Linked DNA regions of Homo sapiens: region 1 is linked to region 2. The links are contacts of gene promoters, found by promoter capture Hi-C in blood cells and fetal thymus (Javierre and others, 2016). All regions are on one chromosome and are shown on one strand. Each heading gives the region's core, a stretch centred on a gene start or on the middle of the fragment in contact. The rest is flanking DNA. Distances are from core to core; before and after follow the strand shown. Region 1 has its middle 23 kb from the start of SERINC3. Region 2 holds the start of STK4 (serine/threonine kinase 4).

The links. The method cuts DNA at HindIII sites, captures the fragments that hold promoters and counts their contacts. A CHiCAGO score of 5 or more calls a contact.
Region 1: a contact is called between a fragment that was not itself captured here and the fragment with the promoter of STK4 in region 2, in 1 of 17 cell types (erythroblasts). The highest score is 5.1, in erythroblasts.

Annotation. Positions count from the first base shown.
Region 1 is chr20:44,543,456-44,546,527 of GRCh38, reverse strand. It overlaps a transcript of PKIG not described here. Among named protein-coding and RNA genes, the nearest start is that of SERINC3, 23 kb to the right of the region's middle. The HindIII fragment of the contact is 4,199 bases long and covers 1-3,072 here.
Region 2 is chr20:44,965,218-44,968,069 of GRCh38, reverse strand. STK4 (serine/threonine kinase 4) reads right to left here and starts at 1,558. Exons shown (of 11, transcript NM_006282.5): 1 at 1,467-1,558. The coding sequence starts at 1,501. It overlaps STK4-DT (STK4 divergent transcript), which reads left to right and starts at 1,612. Exons shown (of 3, transcript NR_038341.1): 1 at 1,612-1,953; 2 at 2,385-2,508; 3 at 2,622-2,852. RefSeq lists an enhancer at 264-343 and a silencer at 1,484-1,733. The HindIII fragment of the contact is 5,160 bases long and covers 995-2,852 here.

The sequences.
Region 1 (3,072 bases), core at 40-2,539, 420 kb after region 2:
ATGTCTCTGGAAAGAAGTTCACCAGGGCACAATTTATAATGACCAACAATAAGGCCTGGTGATATTCATTTCAATTGATACACAGTAACCCATACATAACAACTTAAGAAACAAAGTAGAAGTTCTCTCCTTGATGGAATCAGAACTAATAATGGTATAACTCATTTTTTAAAAAATACAGTTAAAGAGAGGAATCATTAAAAATGCATGTTTATTTTCCAAATACTGGCTAAGGGATGAAAGCCTCTCCTCTCCTCTCTCCTCTCCTTCTCTTCTCTGAGACAGGGTCTCTCCCTGTCACCCATGCTGGACTGCAATGGCATGATCATGGCTCACTGCAGCCTCAACCTCCCTGGGCTCAGGTGATTCTCCCACCTCAGCCTCCGAGTAGTTGGGAGTACAGGCATGCACCACCACAACCTGCTAATTTTTGTATTTTTTGTAGAGACAGGGTTTTGCTGTATTTCCCAGGCTTGTGTCTCGAACTCCTGGACTCAAGTAATCCACCTGCCTCAGCCTCCCAAAGTGCTGGGATTATAGACATGAGCCACTGTGCCCAGTGAAGGCCTTTTCTTGAGAGTAAGTTCAAGCAATTAAAGTTTCTGCATGAACTACACTCATGATGTACATCTATGATTTTCAGTTTTTACTGGAATGATACTTGTGAAGTGTTCTGAAGGCAGAAACATATATGTATATATATGTTTTGGAGACAGGGTCTTACTCTGTGTCCCAGGCTGGAGTAAGTACAGTGGCGTGATGATAGTTCACTGTAACTTCAAACTCCTGGGCTTAAGTGATCCTCCCACTTCAGCCTCCCAAGTAGCTAGGACTACAGGGACACACCACCACATCTGGCTAATTTTCTTTTTGTAGAGACGGGGTCTCACTGTTGCCCAGATTGGTCTCAAACTCCTGGCCTCAAGTAATCTTCCTGCCTCAGCCTCCCAGTGCTAGGATTACAGGTGAGAGTTACCCTATCTGTCAGAATCTCCATATTTTTATAATTTTTTTCTTCAATCTTTTCAGAGGTCTCTTCCACCCCTAATTTGACAAAAATATTTTTTCTTAGCCATTTGCCTTTATCAGGTAAGCACATTCAACTTATTTTTCATAAAAGCAGTATCTTTTTTCCTTTTTCCCTTTACATTTCATTGGTTAACATAATATTTAATTATTTTGTAATCACAATAATAAAACTAAACAGGCTGGGGAACAAACCCAGTTGATTCTTATTGATTGTCACTGTTAGCAACACATTATGAACAAATATTTATAATGCAGGCCGGGCATTGCAGGCGCAGTGGCTCACACCTGTAACCCCAGCACTTTGGGAGGCCAAGGTGGGTGGATCACCTGAGGTCAGGAGTTCGAGACTGGCCTGGCCAACATGGCAAAACCCTGTCTCTACTAAAAATACAAAAATTAGCTGGGCATGGTGGGGCACGCCTGTAATCCTAGCTACTCCAGAAGCTGAGGCAGGGGAATTGCTTGAACCCAGGAGGTGGAGGTTGTAGTGAACCAAGATTGTGCCACCGTACTCCAGCTCAGGCCACAGAGCAAGATTCCATCTCAAAAAAAAAAAAAAAAAAAAAAAAAAAAGAAAGAAGGAAGGAAAGAAAGAAAGAAAAGAAAAGAAAAGAAAGAGGAAAGTCAATGTAAAAACTGCAATTTTCTCCAAATACAGGGTATAGCTGACATTGTTGGCCGCCTCCTGTGGTGGGCACTGCCCACTTCCAGGCTTGTATCTATTTCTCATTCTTCCACAGCTGCAGAATCCCTGTTTTGGGGAATGGCAATGTGTACAGCTAAGAAACTGCATTTACCAGCCTTCTTCACAAGTAAGAATGGACAATGAGATGTAAACTGAACATGGTGGTTGGGACTTAGGGTACTTTAAAGGGTGTCCTCTGCCCTCCCCTTTCCTACTTCTTCCTGCCTCAAAGACCGTTTGGCTAGAGAGCCAGAGCCAACACGTGCGACCACTTGGTGACTGCAAGCTGTGTGATAAGCATGGTGAAACAGAAAGAGAGAAAGATCTAGGCTGCCTGATGGCACTGTGGAACTGCCATGCCAGGAACAGACTATCTACTTTGGACTTAATATTTTTTGAGAGAAAAATAACCTGTCTTCTTTAAAGCACTGTTATCAGCAGCCAACACAATTCCTCTTCGACCAATCTACTCAGCGTCCATTCACCTACTCATAGAAAAAAAAAAATTTTCCTAACAGAAACACAATTCTGTTTCTGAATGGTCTAGAGATAATTTCATCCCTCTTGTAAATGGCTTGTTCAAGAACCAGGCCTAAGCCCATCAGGGCATCACATTGCCCTACTAACAAAAATTGGCTCAGGAATGAGCATATGACCCAGTCCAGGCCAATGAGATTCTAGGGTAGTTCTCTGGAGGCTTCTGAGAAAAATTCTCACTCTAAGGAACAATCTTTTTTTTTTTTTTTTTTGAGGCGGAGTTTTGCTCTTGTTGCCCAGGTCGGAGTGCAGTGGTGTGACCTCAGCTCACTGCAACCTCCACCTCCCAGGTTCAAGCGATTCTCCTGCCTCAGCCTCCCGAGTAGCTGGGACTACAGGCGTCTACCATCACACACGGCTAATTTTTTGTATTTTTAGTAGAGACGGGGTTTCACCATGTTGGTCAGGCTGGTCTCGAATTCCTGACCTCAGGTGATCCACCCGCCTCGGCTTCCCACAGTGCTGGGATTACAGGTATTTTACGGGTGTAAGCCACCGCGCCCAGCCAAGACAATCTTTCTATTCCTTAGGTGGGTGCCATACATAAATCTGGGGCCTAGGCCTACTGCAGCTATTTTGCTGCTAGCCTGAGGAAGAAGCCAATACTCTAGGGAGGGCACAACCAAGAAAATCTTAGGGAAAGAAGCCTGTGACAGTAGATTAAGTGAACCTTGAAGTCTGTCCAGGACAAGTTTGGCTGTATCAGCCAAAACATATACACGTTGCAGAGGTCATCTCAGAAGCAATGGAGTAGGTGCTGAGAGTTATGCAAATATTTTGAGAAGGCCAAAGTCAGTCAGGTCTTCCCAGTGGGCATGCAA
Region 2 (2,852 bases), core at 309-2,808:
CAGCAAATCACTACCCTCTGTATCTCAGTTTTATCATCTGTAAAACAGACATATAGGGATATCTACCACACAGGATTGTTGTGAGGTTCAAATGAGTTCAAATGAGGTTTTTATGGTTCAAAAATGGTCAAATATCAGCAATTTCATATGCTTCAGCAGGACACATGGAAAGCACTTAGAACAGTGCCTGGCACCCGGTAAGTGCAATATGAGTGTAATAATCATTACTATTACAGTCTCAGCACACTACGCTAGGGTGAATCCAAAGCCCATCCCAACCACCTATTTGCCTTCTGCAATGTTTGTGCACCTCAAACATCCCCAAGCTCAAACAACCCCTAAGAGTGCTGCCCAGGCAGTCAATCCCTTCTCTTCACCTCTTGGTTGCCCTGCACTTCCACACCCTGAACACTTCCTTCTTTAGAGCTCATTCTGCTGCAGGAAGTCAGACGTCTCTGTGAAATAGAAGTAACCACACTGAACCTCAGAGAAGCATGACTCCTTCGGTCTCTAGTCCCTACTTTTCTCCAGATGTGGTAGAGTGGCAAAAGACCCGGGATGTCCACAAGGGAAATCCAGGAGTTGAGATTTTCTAGGATCAGCCACCATCCTGATCTTGAACTAAAGCAATTCCAGGTACCACTAGGATTTGGTGCTGATATTCACAAAACAACTGAGGCCTGAAAAGGGCACAGACTGGCAGGGTTCAGTGACCCGGAGTAAAGAAGGAAACACTTCCCAACTACTCTGGACCTCAGTCTCCCCATCTCGAAAATATCCTCTTATTTCCTTACCTACCTCCCAATGTCAGGTTCTGAAGAGCTGAGGAGGATGTGAAGACCATTAGGAAGACACTGAACATCAGTAATAAAAGATGCCATCCTACAGTGGGGACACCACCAACAGCATCCTCTGAAATGCTACCCTCCACCATCCCCTCCCTTGCTAGACCCTCAACCTTTCCTCGCATGCTTTCAGCCTTAGGCGCAAAGCTTTTCCCCTCCACAGATCCCCCCACCGCACCCCTCAAGTGGGACTTCAGACCCTTAGAAAGTCCACCCGGCCTTCCTCTTGGCCAGTTCTCGATCCACCCCCTTAAAGAGATCCCTCACAGATTCTCACCCTGCTTCAGCATTCGCCCCCACCTCCGTGAGTCCCTGCTTGGATAGCGTTCCCCCGAGTGGCCCGGCCTCAGCAGGTACTCTCCCTAACTTGTCCCCACGTTCCTCAGCACAGTCTCACCACAGCGAGTGCTCCCTCTAACCGGTCCCAAGTCTAACCTCCTTAGCAGATGCTCCCCTCAGCCGGACCCTCACCCACCAGACGTCCCCCCCCTCACTCAGCAGGTGCCCCATCGGCTGGGTCGCTTAGCTCCGGGGACTCCCACACAGGTGTATCCCCTCAACCAGTTCCCGCCTTTTCTTCCCCTGACCCCATGCCCGTCCTCTTAGCCAGTGGCCCCTCACCGGCGCGGCGGGTTCCTCAGCTGTACCGTCTCCATGGCGCTGCCAGCAGCCGCCCAGACCCGCTCACTGCTCCATCCTCCCGCGGACCTCCTGAGCCCGCCCCGCAGACCCTCCCACACTTCCGCTTTCCGCCCCTACCGGAAGCGGCGCGCGGCGCGGGAGCGGGGCGGAGCCACGGCCCTGATCACGTGGTTCGGGCGTGAGTCTTGTGGCGCGGTGGGGCGCGGACCCGGAACCGCCAAGTGGTGAAGGCGCCTCCAGGCGGTGCCCGCTGGTCTCTAGAGTGTCAGTGGCGCTGTCTTCCTGCGTTACCGGAGCGCACAAAATACTCGGTCCCCAGGCCGAGAACGCACCTCTACCTGGGTCCTGGGTCCCATTTCACAGACTGAGATGCGTGAAGCGCCTCCTTTAGAAGAGCTGACAATTCTTAGCAAACCAAGTTTTGCGTGATTTTGGGGAGGCGGCGCTGCCCCAGGAACGCCTGGAGGTATTTGTGGTTTTCTGCCGCTTACCTGGTTGAACTCTGGTCCCAACGGGCCCCCTGCACATTTTCTCCTACAATGCATCAACGCGCAAATTGCCCCACTGTCTTTCTTAAAGGCCTCCCCTTTAAGTCAGTTTGCAGACATAAAAATAAGCAACATTAATTAAGCATTTGCCGTGTACTTGTCTTCATATATTATCTCATTTAATCCCCTGTGTCAAGCCGATAAGGTCATCCCCGTTTTTATTTATTTAATGATTTAACACAGTCCCTAAACGTTTTCAGTGCTTTACCTCATTTAATACTCCTAACAACCTAGACGGTATTATTATTATTCCTACTTCATAAGGCCAGAGAGGTGAAGTATCTAGCCCAAGGTCACATAGCTTAGAGTATAGGTTTGGGGATTTAAATCCAGTTTGGTCTGATTTCAGGGCCTGCACCACCAAACTGGACAGCCATGGGTGTGTAACCTCTTTTTGGGCCTGAGAAACAGACCTTTCTCTCCACTCAGAGCTCCGGCTTCAGCTATTGTGCTTCCGAATGCCACTACCATCAGTAAGTATTAGGAAAATGGCAGATTCTACCCAATTGACCCATGGGGAAAGTTATAGGAGAAAACTTAACCAGAGCAACCTCTCACTGTTTTTAATTGCCTTGCTTTTCCCAAGGATATGCCATCTACAGAACTTAACACCTGAGCACCCACCCTTCAGGGCCACCCATGGGCCCAAAACGGGATAAAGGAGCCATTCCCTGACATAGGAGGAAAACATTTGCTGAGAAGCTACTGTGTGCCAGACACAATCTTGGACTTTCACTTAATCCTCAAAACAGCCCTAGGAAGAAGTACCTACCGTTAACAGATAAGAAAGCTGAGACCCACGGTTTACACAGCTAAG